2 separate regions of the Homo sapiens genome follow, and region 1 is linked to region 2. Evidence: promoter capture Hi-C in human tissues and cell types (Jung and others, 2019). All regions are on one chromosome and are shown on one strand. Each heading gives the region's core, a stretch centred on a gene start or on the middle of the fragment in contact. The rest is flanking DNA. Distances are from core to core; before and after follow the strand shown. Region 1 overlaps TLDC2 (TBC/LysM-associated domain containing 2). Region 2 holds the start of DSN1 (DSN1 component of MIS12 kinetochore complex).

Region 1 (5,891 bases), core at 692-3,191, 110 kb after region 2:
GGTGAAACCTGTTTCTACTAAAATACAAAAAGTTAGCCGGGCGTGGTGGTGCGTGCCTGTAGTCCCAGCCACTCAGGAGGCTGAGGCAGGGGAATCGTTTGAACTCAGGAGGCGGAGGTTGCAGTGAGCCAAGATTGCGCCACTGCACTCCAGCCTGGCAAAAGAGCGAGACTCTGTCTCAAAAGAGAGAGAAAAAAAATTTTTTTTAGAGATAGGGGAGGGTCTTACTATGTTGCCTTGGTTGGTCTAGAACTCCTGACCTCGAGGAAACTCCTGGCCTCAAGTGATCCTCCCGCCTCAGCCTACTGAGTAGCTGGGATTACAAGTGCACACCATCACACCTAGCTAGTTAAAAAATTGCTGGGATTACAGGCATGAGCCACTGCGCCAGTCCCAGGCTGCACTTCTGGCCATTGTTAAGGAGTTGAATTTTATCCCCATTGCAATGGGAAGCCATTGGAGGACTTAGGCAGAGGAGAGATAACATCTGATTTGGACGTAGAACAGATCACGCAGATTGCAGTGTGGGTATGGCTGTAGGTACAGACAGTGGATGCAGAGGGACCAGCTGGGAGGCTGTGATCCAGGCAGAGGACGGGATAGAAATGGCGGCAGGCCCGCTGTGTCTAGAGCTGCGAGGCTTGTTGATGAGCTGGATGTGAGGCAGCACTGAAGAGCAGGCGGGCTGGTGTTGTCCGGGTGAGAGTTAGTTAGAAGGGCAGTATCAGTTCCCACTCCTGGCCTGGACTGCTCCCCTCCTCCCTCCAGCTTTGGAAGCAGGAAGCCTCAGGGGTCGTTGTCCTATTCTAGAACAAAGAGGCTTCTAGGCTGTAGGAATTCAAACTAGAGGGCATGCGGTGGTGACTCCAAGGAGACTGAGAAGATAAACCCCAAGATCCCTGAGCCCGGAGTCCCACCTGCGGCTCGGTTGGGGCCTGGATGCTGTTCCCGCCACAACACTGCCATCCAGTGGTTCGGGGTCAAACTGCAAGGGCGGGACTCGCTCGCTTAGTAACCTGAGCCTTTCCCTATGTATCACCCAGGTCTTTAAGTGGACTGGAAGCAACTCTTTCTTTGTGAAGGGAGACTTGGATTCACTGATGATGGGCAGTGGCAGGTGAGTGTCTCAGTCTTCCCGAGTCTTGGGGCGGTCTGTGTTCTGGTCCCTTTCCCTCTGCCGAACTGCTGGGCTAGGCTGCCCTTGATGCAATGGCGAGGCTAGTGGGGAACTCTCAGGCCGTTCCCCTCATTGCTCAGCCTCCCAGCCAACCCCCTCAACCTCACGCTAAGCCAGTATTAAGGAGAAAGGATGCATGAGTGCCCCCACTGAAGTGTTACAGCTGGTGACAGTTTAGTCTGAATGTATGCAACTTTGGGAAAAGAATTCCACATGGTTGGATGAGACTAGCGTCAAGAGATGAGTGTGCCTCGTTTTTCCACCAGCCCAGGAATTGCAGGGGACATAACTCATTGCAGGAACCTCCCTCGGTGAGGACGGGGTAGAGAGAGGTAGGAAAAAAAAGTTGATCTCATCCTGGTGTGACCTTCACATTCAGGGGGCATGCGTCTTATCCTGAGGGCGGGGATGAGAGCATTGCTTGATTAGTACCAGGCAAATTCTTTGCTCTCCCAACTGCCTGAAAAGCCTCCACTGAGGGGCAGCTTGGCACAGAACACATCAGCCATTGCTGATCTGCAGGAATTCACTTCCTGGTTTCAGCCGAGGTTTTCTGTCAAATAAGGGGATTAGAATGGACGCTCTGAAGCATTTGGGCTCTCAGAGTTTGCACCCTGAGATGTACTAGCTTTGGTTAAAGAATTGCCATTTTGTTTTTTTTGAGACAGAGTCTCGCTCTGTCGCCCAGGCTGGAGTGCAGTGGTGTGATCTCAGCTCACCACACCCTCCGACTCCTGGGTTCAAGTGATTCTCCTGCCTCAGCGTCTCGAGTAGCTGGGACAACAGTTGCCCACCACCACGTCCGGCTAATTTTTGTATTAAGAATTGCTATCTTGGACCGAGCGTGGTGGCTTGTGCCTGTAATCCCAGCACTTTGGGAGGCCGAGGTGGGCGGATCACGAGGTCAGGAGATCGAGACCGTCCTGGCTAACATGGTGAAACCCCATCTCTACTAAAAATACAAAAAATCAGCCAGGCGTGGTGGTGGGCACCCGTAGTCCCAGCTACTCGGGAGGCTGAGGCAGGAGAATGGTGTGAACCCGGGAGGTGGAGCTTGCAGTGAGCCAAGATCGCGCCATTGCACTCCAGGCTGGGCGACAGAGCAAGACTCCTATCAAAAAAAAAAAAAAAAAAAAAAAATTGCCATCTTGACCAGGCGCAGTGGCTCACACCTGTAATCCCAGCACTTTGGGAGGCCAAGGCAGGCAGATCGCTTGAGGTCAGGAGTTCAAGACCAGCCTGGCCAACATAGCAAAACCCCATCTCTACTAAACATACAAAAATTAGCCAGGCATAGTGGTGGGCGGCCTGTAATACCAGCTACTAGGGAGGCTGAGGTAGGAAAATTGCTTGAACCCGGGAGGTGGAGGTTGTGGTGAGCCAGGGTCGTGCCACTGCACTCCAGCCTGGGTGACAAAGCAAGACTCCGTTTCAATAAATAAATAAATAAATAAATAAACAAATAAATAAATAAAGCTCTTAACCCCATGGGGAACAATGTGCTGAGTCCCCAATAATTCAGTATAAATTGCTTTAAGGGGCGATAAGACAGGTGAAACTGGGCTGCCGTCCTGGCATGGCCAAGAGCTGATGCTGGTGGCAGAGCCTGGGGGTTTCAGCACACAGGAGTGAGCCGCACCAAGACTGTCCTCTTCTCTCTAGTGGCCGGTTTGGGCTGTGGTTGGATGGAGACTTGTTCCGCGGGGGAAGCTCCCCTTGCCCGACCTTCAACAACGAGGTGCTGGCCCGGCAGGAGCAGTTCTGCATCCAGGAGCTGGAGGCTTGGCTTCTCAGCTGACAGCCCTGCGGCAACAGGTACTCAGCCCTGCTCATGATGCCACCCAGGCCTTCCTGACACACAGCAGCCTGTGCTGTTTGAAACACAGATGGTGAAGGGCCCTAGAGTTGGCCGAGGCTGCTGGCCAGCCTCCTTGTGGCCTGGGGACCCAAGATACAGGTGGGGGCAGGCACTGCTCTTTTGCAGAGGTGACTTTGAAGGATTAAAAGACGCTTACACCTTACTCAAGCAGCACAGAGACCCTAAGCTAACAGGGTCTTAGAAAACTCAGAAAAATCCACATCTCTTCCCCGCTAGTGCCTGCCTCCTGGCAAAGGGAAGATTTTTCACTATGCTGTTCCTCGCCAGCTACTGAACGAGGAAAACCAACCTCATGAACATTATCATTTTAGAGGTTCTACAACTGATTCATGTTTATTGTAGAAAAACCAGAAGACGTTAAAAAAATTAAAATTGCCTAAAATTCAACCCCCCCCAACTCTTAACATTTTCATGTATATCCTTCCAGACAATGTTCCATGAATGTGTGTGTGTGTGTGTGTGTATACTTACAAAAACAGGATTCTACTCTGTATGTGTGGAAATGATTTTAACTTACAGAATATTGTCAAACCTTAGAAACCTGGGCTTGAGCACTGGAACTAATAAATACTGTAGCAGCGTCGTTCCTCCTCTGGCCTGCTGCAGAATGTTGAGGCCTTTTTGTCTGCCACCAGTGCCAGGTGCTTGTGAGTCTGTTATTTAATTTCACAATGAAGGTATGAAAGGAGTAAATGAGTAATATGCATTTTTGGACAAAGAGGTCGAAACCTTTGTGGAACACAACTTTCAAGATGGAGATATATATTCACGAAGCTTTATTGCAGCTGTTTCCCTTACCCAGTTGAAGTGGCCAGTCATTTTAATTTGCAGTTCTATTTACATTCCCAAGGTAACCACGTTCAGTAACTCTCTAGAGGCTAAGCTGTTAAAATTTCCATTTTTATACAAATAGCAAAGATATTTCTTTCTCTTTCTTTCTTTCTTTCTTTCTTTTCTTTCTCTCTTTCCTTCCTTCCTTCCCTCCTTCCTTCCTTCCTTTCTTTCTTTTTGTTTGAGACAGAGTTTCGCTCTTGACCCCGAGGCTGGAGTGCAGTGGCCTGATCTTGGCTCACTGCAACCTCTGCCTCCCGGATTCAAGCGATTCTCCTGCCTCAGCCTCCCGAGTAGCTGGGATTACAAGCACACACCACCACGCCCGGCTAATTTCACCCGGCTAATTTTTGTATTTTTAGTAGAGACTGGGTTTCGCCATGCTAGCCAGGCTGGTCTCAACTCTTTACCTCAAGTGATCCGCCCACCTTGGCCTCCCAAAGTGCTGGGATTACAGGCATGACCACCTCGCCTGGCCAAGAAAAATGTAACCTTGTAAATAGCACAGCGTTCTCATAATGGAAACAGTTGCAAAGAACATAAAGTACAGCTGCGTTACATGTAACAAAAGATGCAAACAAAATAGATTCAAGTTGTTTTGCAGACAGCACAATGATACAATATTAGGACTACAGAATCTCAGAGTAAACCACAATGATTTAAAGGTAAGATACACAGAAATAAAATGATTTTAACAGAAAAATATGACATTCCTGACCTTAGGTCTGGGCACATGATGTCTGACCCCTATAGAGGCACCTTGGCTAAAATGGGAATGACCTAGTGCCATGGCTGACCTCACTTGTGCGTTGCTGAGCCCATATGTGAACAAATCCCCTTGATACAGCACCATGGTAGGCATGAGAGGAGAAGTGTTTTAACTATTCTCTTATGAATTGTAACCAACCCTTATTATCTACTGATGGATGGACAGGGGGTGGGGTGATCATACAGGATGGCAGACATTCCAAGTACTCTTCACCCCAGTGTGGACGGAACAGAATCTGGCTACACGGTGGCCAGTGATGGACTGCTGGGAAATCTGCTGGCCTGTGGTCTGAGTTCCCCTACTTGCTCAGGCTGCCCCTCACTCCCAGTGTGCCAGGGAGGCTTAGTCCGGGGAGCATCAGAGCAGAAGACATTCGGGGCTCATGGCTCCCATCCCCACTGGCCTGTATCTTCAGCACCCTCTGGCCACCACCAGCTTTGGCTCTAACTGCAGACTTTGTTCTTGGTGAATTGCTATAGAACTGGGAATGAGGTGTGCCCTGGGCACAGGGGCACTGCCCCACCAAGGTGGTGCCCACTCCACTGCTGGGAAAACGAAGTTACCTAGCGGAGCCTGGAGCCCACTGGGTGGTCACTAATTTCAGCACAGGCAGTGCAGTGTTTGTGCTTTTTTTTTTGGAGATGGAGTCTCACTCTGTCACCCAGGCTGGAGTGCAATGGCGTGATCTAGGCTCACTGCAACCTCCGCCTCCCAGGTTCGAGCAATCCTCCTGCCTCAGCCTCCCAAGTAGCTGGGACTACAGGCACACGCCGCCACGCCTGGCTAGTGTTTGCTCTTAAATACACAAAATGCACTGAACCAGCAAAAACAAAGTCCCAGGTCTGAGGAGCTCTGAGGATGATGCCTGTGATGGCCTCTGGCCAGCTCTCCAGGATACTGAGAGAGCAGGTCAGGGGAGGCCTTCTCCAGGCTGGGCAGTGGGAAGGCCCTCTGGACCGGGGGAGTGAGTATTCAGGGGACAAAGGCACTACCCGGGTCTGGAGCCGCCACGGAGCCAGGGCACAGCCTAGTTTGGGGGATTCCTCTGTCACTGGGGTAGGATCTCCCAACAAGAGGCGGCTTTATGTTCCACTCACGAAGAGGCCAGAGCTCTCAGATCTTCCCCAAAACCTAATCAGGCCTCTCACCAGCGTGTTGGAGGCCACTCCTGGCCATCATCTCCAACTCTTTACCCCAACCTGGCACCTTGTAGGGGGCTAGAAGGGTGAGGGGAG
Region 2 (6,236 bases), core at 2,036-4,535:
CCACAGAAAGAAATCTTTAATGTTTCTCACCCTAGCAGAGGTGAGTATTGAACAATTAGAAATTTATTTGTGGCAGCTAATAATATAATATAAGTAGTAAGCCAGGTGCAGTGGCTCACGCCTGTAGTCCCAGCTACTTGGGAGGCTGAAGTGGGAGGATTGCTTGAGCCCAGAAGTTCAAGTCCAGCCTAGACAAAACAGCAACATCCTGTCTCTTAAAAAGAAATAGCAGTAATACTGAACATTTACTAGGTGTTTGACATCAGTACTTATAAAGTAGCAAGTCATGTCTATTCTCCCACACTTTCTGCCATACCTCACTGCCTCTTATCTGAGCTGGAACCTGTCTCTTATCTGAGCTGGAACCTCACTGTCTTGTGTACACAGCACCCCACCTGTGATGCCCTGGTGAATGGGATGCAGCGACTTCCGCCGGTTCGTTTCTTTCATACTTGCTCGCCGCCAGGATTGCCTCCTGTCTTGATAACTGGCAGATTGTTCTTGAGGAGACAAATGAAGGGACTTCGACTGAAGTCTTTCCTGGTGGCTGAGATCACAATTTCCCCCTTTTTTAGGGCTAGAGCCAAGGTGAATTCTTTCCTCTGAAACGCCTTGATTCATCTCCAGGGAGGCAGATGTTTTAGCAAACACTTCCACAGGACTGAGACTTGATTCCAATTGATGATCATGAGTCTTAGACATCACTGGTCCTTTTTCTAGTATTTGTTATAAAAAAGTCAAAATACAAGATCAAGCCCGCCACAACTATTTGTGCAAAAAAGTGGAAAAAGTAAATGTATGCCCCTAGATCGTGGAAACATAAAGAAAGCATCTCTGCAAATAATGAGTATGTGATTCCAAATCTACCAGGAGCCAGGAAAGATTTGGGTATAGCTCAGAAGCCTGAACCCAAGGTAAGAGGTACTGAATTTCACTACAATACTTACCATCTATGATCTCTGATCTAGTCACTGAAGTCATCCTAGGTGGTAAACTCTGAAAATAGGAAAATGGAAGTGATCTGTTCTTCACGTTTCACTGCAGTCTCAATGGGGCTTTACAGCCCCAGAATAAATAGGCCGTGTGCTTTCCAGCCTCTCTGAGCTACCCTTATCCACCTCCCTGACAGAGAATATCAGCAGGGGCCATCACCTCCTCTTCTGAATTTCTATACACTTTATTGCTAGAAATATTCAAATCTCCCTGAACACATACCCTACCTTACTTCCCAGTTACTTTGTGTTTAACTAGTCCCTAATTCCATTGATGACATTATGGTCTACCTGGTCTTCCAAACTAGAAAAACCACATCATCCATTACTTCTTATTCTTAGTTCTCCAGATCCAAAGTCCTAACTGTTTTATAAACAGTCTCTAAATCTTTTCTCCATTCTCACTGTTACTAGTTTATTTATTATTTTGAGACAGGGTCTTGCTCTGTTGCCCAGGCTGGAGTACAGTAGCACAATCTTGGCTCACTGCAACCTCCTCCTCCCCAGTTCAGGTGATTCTCCTGCCTCAGCCTCCTGAGTAGCTGGGATTACAGGAATGCACCACCATACCTGGCTAATTTTTGCATTTTTAGTAGAGATGGGGTTTCCCCATGTTGGCCAGGCTGGTCTCAAACTCCTGGCCTCAAGTGATCCACCAGCCTAGGCCTCCCAAAGTCTGGGATTACAGGCGTGAGCCACCACGCCCAGCCTCACTGTTACTAGTTTAGTTCAGGTCTCATAATTTCTGGTCCCTCCCACTATCTTAATAGTCTCTCCACTAGTTTTTCTACCTCCAACGGCCCGTCTCCAGTCTATTCTTTGTTTTTGTTTTTTTTTGAGGTGGAATCTCACTCTGTCGCCAAGGCTGGAGTGCAGTGGCGCAGTCTCGGCTCACTGCAACTTTCACCTCCCAGGTTCAAGCAATTCTCCTGCCTCAGCTTCCTGAGTAGCTGGGATTACAGGTGCCTGCCACCACACCTGGCTAATTTTTGTATTTTTAGTAGCGATGGGGTTTCCCCATATTGGCCAGGCTGGTCTCGAACTCTTGACCTCAGGTGATCCGCCCGGCCTCAGCCTCCCAAAGTGCTGGGATTACAGGCCTGAGCCACCACACCCGGCCCAGTCTATTCTTCAGACAGTTGCCGGGACTTTTCCAAAGTGTAGTCAACACCTCAGGTAAACTAGTCCCAATTTACCCATTCCTGCTCTCTCCTCCCAGTCCTATTCCCTGTACTACTTCTGAATCTTTGCACATATCTGTCCTTCTACCTGTTAAACTTATTCATCCTTCCCAACCTGGCTCAAATATGAAGCTTTCACATCACTTATCTTTGGCAGAGTTGGTGGTTATGCCCCTTGGCCTTCGTAGCATTGGCTATAAAATCTGTTTACATGTCTGTCTCCCCAGCCAGGCTGTATTTGTATTCCTAGTGACTGTCAGGAACAACTGCCTGGAAGGCAGGGATGTCACCTAGGCATCTCTTCATCGTCCCCTCCCTCCCAGCAGAAATCTGTCTGTGGGGGGTGCTAAGTAAAAAGATATGAATATATGCAGAGGGACAAAAAGGAAAAGATAACAAGGAGGGCTCGGTCAAGGATCTGAATCCCCCACGGTCCTTATGACAATATCACACAAATCCAGGCTTGGATAATAACGACTGTATCACACAGATCCAGGCTTAGAAAAGCAACAACTGTCAACTGTTAAACGCTTATTCTGTGCTAGGACCTGTGCTATGTAAGCGCTTTACTTGCATCGTTATTCCACTTAATCCCTTCCACAACTCCGTAAGCACCATTAACTCCACTTTGCAGACAGGGGAACTGAGGTTCAGAGGGGCAAAAAGCCTGGCCCAAGCTTGTGACACAGCCAGCCTGGGGGCACAGGGGCAATTCGAACCCCAGCCCTCTACCCAGTCCTCACCCCTGTTTCTGGAGCCTAGACCCCTGGCACGGCAGATACGTCTCTAATGGGGTCGGTAAGGGGGACTGCCCTCGGGTTTCATTTCACCCGGGAGGAGGTCGCAGCGCCCTCGGGGACCCCCAGTGTCCACGGTCGGGGCCGGGGCTGCGGCGGGTCGAGCTGGGCCGACGGGTACGACGCCGAAGAGATTAGTGCGGCGGCGGGCGGGGCCACATCAGAGGACAAGTCTGTGACTTCCTGACGCCCGTCCAGTCCGGAACCTCCGTACCTGAAACACAAGGCCACGGGTCGCTCTCCACAGCCCCAGGTCACTCCTGGACGCCTTGCGCACCCGCAGCCGATACTCCCTGATCAGGGTGAAGCGGTCTCCACCTTCTACGTCACGGTCACCGCCTCCGAAACTCCCGCCAACCAAGGGCGCATGCGCGGCCGTCAGTTTCTCGGGCACGCGCGCGCAGAACGCCTGCCTCCGGCGATGCACATGCGTACACCGCCGCCCGACGCGCATGCGTACACCGCCGTCCAACGCTCCTGCCAGCTCCGCTCCTCTAGTCCAAGTCCTTTAGGTCCTGTCTGGCCACGTCACCACCTCCCCGCAACACCCCGCCCGGGAGTCCCTTTCCGGGACCCGCCACACTATCGTGTCCTTTTGCGCCCGACGGCCCCAGAGCCCATCTAAGATGGGGGAAACAGAGGCCCGGAGAGATTCTTGCCGGAGGAATACAGCGCCTCAAAGGGCATCTGATGCCCTGTCCCCGTCGCTAGGCTCTGGTTCCCACTCCCTTTATCTCCTTAACTCCCAAAATGTGGACCGTGACTCTCCCCAGGGTGGACTGGAGCTCTGAGCTCAGTTTGCCTCACAGTCTATCCCACTCCTGCTCTAGGACTTTTTCTCTCTCATTTCCAGGCCACTCCCTCAAACGGCTTGCTTTACTTGCTTGGTGGGTGGGGGCCTGCCCTCGGGTTTCATTTCACCCGGGAGGAGGTCGCAGCGCCCCCAAGTGGTCGCAGTGTCCTTAGTCGGGGTCGGGGGGTGCGGCAGGTCGGGCTGGTCCTTAGGGGTAGGACGGGGACAGGGCATCAGATGCCCTTTGAGGCGCTATATTCCCAGGCGCTGTTCCCTCTGCCTGGGAAGGCTTTCCCTGCTTTTCCTAGCTACATCCTCCAATTTTTTTGTATTTTGAGACGGAGTCTCGCTCTGTCGCCCAGGCTAGAGTGCAGTGGCGCGATCTCGGCTCCCGGCAACCTCCGCCTCCCGGGTTCGGGTTCAAGCGATTCTCCTGCCTCAGCCTCCCGAGTAGCTGGGATTACAGGCGCCCACCACCACGCCTGGCTAATTTTTGTATTTTTAGTAGAGACGGCCACTAAAAATGTTGGCCAGGCTGGTCGCGAACTCCTGACCTCAAGTGATCCACCCACTTCGGCCTCCCAAAGAGCTGGGATTACAGGCATGAGCCACTGCGCCCGGCCACATCCTCGAATTTTAAGCCTCAGCTAAGGAATGATTGATTTCTCTCCAAGCATTCTCTCTGGCCTTAGGCTGAAAACCAACTGTCCTTTCTGTGCTCCCAGGAGCCCAATCTGTTCCTGCTCCACTATCCCATGCTGGTCTAGGAGGCTCCAGAGAGCGGGCTGCTTCCTCAGCACCCAGCACGACGCCACCAAAATGTCCCCTTGGATGTGCACAGTCCTTTCTTTCACAGAAAAACTTCCAAATATTGAATTATAAGCAGCCCACAGTCCAAAAGAGGGGTTGGAGAGAGGCAGCTGGAGCTGACCGTGGTCATCCTTCCATAGCAGTTGTGGTCCTTGGAAAAGTTTTCTGGTGGGAGACAAAAATCTGCCTTCCTGAAATTTCCACCCTGTGGTTCCAGCCTGCTGGCTGCAGCAGCCATTCTGAAAGCAGAGATTTGCCCTTGGCTCCCTGAATATCACTTTCTGGGGTTGAGAGGTACCCAGTTCCTTTTATGCTTGCCTGCCTCTTAAACTCCTCTCTGTCAACGTGCCAGGAAGAGAACTCAGTGTTCCTTCCCAGCTAGGGCTGGCCATCCTGGGGCACAATGAGAAAATGATTTCATGGAATACAGACCCAATACATCTTCTACATCGTTTCCCTGCTTTGAATTGTTGCATGGCTCCCTCCTGTCCACAGGAGGCACACATTTTTTTCCCCTATAAGGCACTGTGTCATTAGGCTGGGTGTGGTGGCTCACGCCTCTAATCCCAGCAGTTTGGGAGGCTGAGGCCTGCGGATCAGTTGAGGTCAGGAGTTTGAGACCAGCCTGGCCAACATAGCAAAACCCTGTCTCTACTAAAAATACAAAAATTAGCCAGGTGTGGTGGTATGCACCTATAATCCCTGTTACTTGAGAGGCTGAAGCAGGAGAATCACTTGAACCTGGGAGGCCAGGAGAATCACTTGAACCTGGGAGGCCAGGGCTGCGGTGAGCTAAGAACATGCCACTGTACTCCAGTCTGGGCAACAGAGCAAGATTTCATCTCAAAAAAAAAAAAAAAAAAGAAAAAAGAAAAGAAAAGGAAAAAGAAAAAAGGCACTGTGTGATCTGACCCAGCCTCTTCTTTCAGTTCCCCAGTTCTGCTCTGCTCTCTTTCTACGAGGCTTTCACACATGGTATTCCCTCTCCCTGGAACCACTTCCCCTCAGTCCCGTGCCTACAACACACCACCATGGCCTTCATCTGGTCAACATCTCAATCTTAGGTGTCATTCAGATGTCCTTTCCTCTGTGAAGCCTTTCTTGTTTCCTCTGGGCTGGCTGAGCACCCTGGGCTCCCCCTGCCATTAACATTTGATTTCATATCTTCCAGGCCCATCCATTGTATCCTCAATACCTAGCACATGCCTGGCTGTTATTAGCCCCTCATAGAAGAGATCTATGAAGTATCATGTAGCCAGCTTCTAAGATGGCCCCCAATGACCCCTGGTTCCTGGTGTTCATGCCCTCGTGTTGTCCCCTCCCATGCTGAAGAATGCTAGTCTATATAACCAATTAGATATTGCAGACATTATAGACATTATAGTCTGTGGCTTTTTTTTTTTTTTTTGAGACGGAGTTTTGCTCTTGTTGCCCAGGCTGGAGTGCAATGGCGCGATCTTGGTTCACAGCAACCTCTGCCTCCTGAGTTCAAGCGATTCTCCTGCCTCAGCCTCCCGAGTAGCTGGGATTACATGCATGCACCACCACACCCAGCTAACTGTGTATTTTTAGTAGAGATGGGGTTTCTCTATGTTGGTCAGGCTGATCTCCAACTCCCGACCTCAGGTGATCTGCCCGCCTCGGCCTCCCAAAGTGCTGGGAT

Evidence for each region. Contacts are between HindIII fragments. The study calls those that stand out against the background at their distance.
Region 1: a fragment that was not itself captured here is called in contact with the fragment with the promoter of DSN1 in region 2 in 6 of the 25 tissues and cell types used here (H1 embryonic stem cells, dorsolateral prefrontal cortex, lymphoblastoid cells and 3 more).

The regions. Positions count from the first base shown.
Region 1 is chr20:36,886,412-36,892,302 of GRCh38, forward strand. It overlaps TLDC2 (TBC/LysM-associated domain containing 2), which reads left to right. Exons shown (of 7, transcript NM_080628.3): 5 at 1,044-1,117; 6 at 2,840-2,992. The coding sequence ends at 2,975. SAMHD1 (SAM and HD domain containing deoxynucleoside triphosphate triphosphohydrolase 1) reads right to left here. Exons shown (of 16, transcript NM_015474.4): 16 at 3,818-5,891. Among named protein-coding and RNA genes, the nearest start is that of TLDC2, 13 kb to the left of the region's middle. RefSeq lists an enhancer at 777-1,499. The HindIII fragment of the contact is 8,903 bases long and covers 1-5,891 here.
Region 2 is chr20:36,770,478-36,776,713 of GRCh38, forward strand. DSN1 (DSN1 component of MIS12 kinetochore complex) reads right to left here and starts at 3,286. Exons shown (of 11, transcript NM_001145315.2): 1 at 3,185-3,286; 2 at 948-996; 3 at 396-716. The coding sequence starts at 981. LOC124904894 (a long non-coding RNA gene) reads left to right here and starts at 4,658. Exons shown (of 2, transcript XR_007067574.1): 1 at 4,658-4,741. RefSeq lists a silencer at 369-534 and enhancers at 3,045-3,590, 3,212-3,271, 3,402-3,541, 3,552-3,631, 3,591-4,137. The HindIII fragment of the contact is 22,977 bases long and covers 2,578-6,236 here.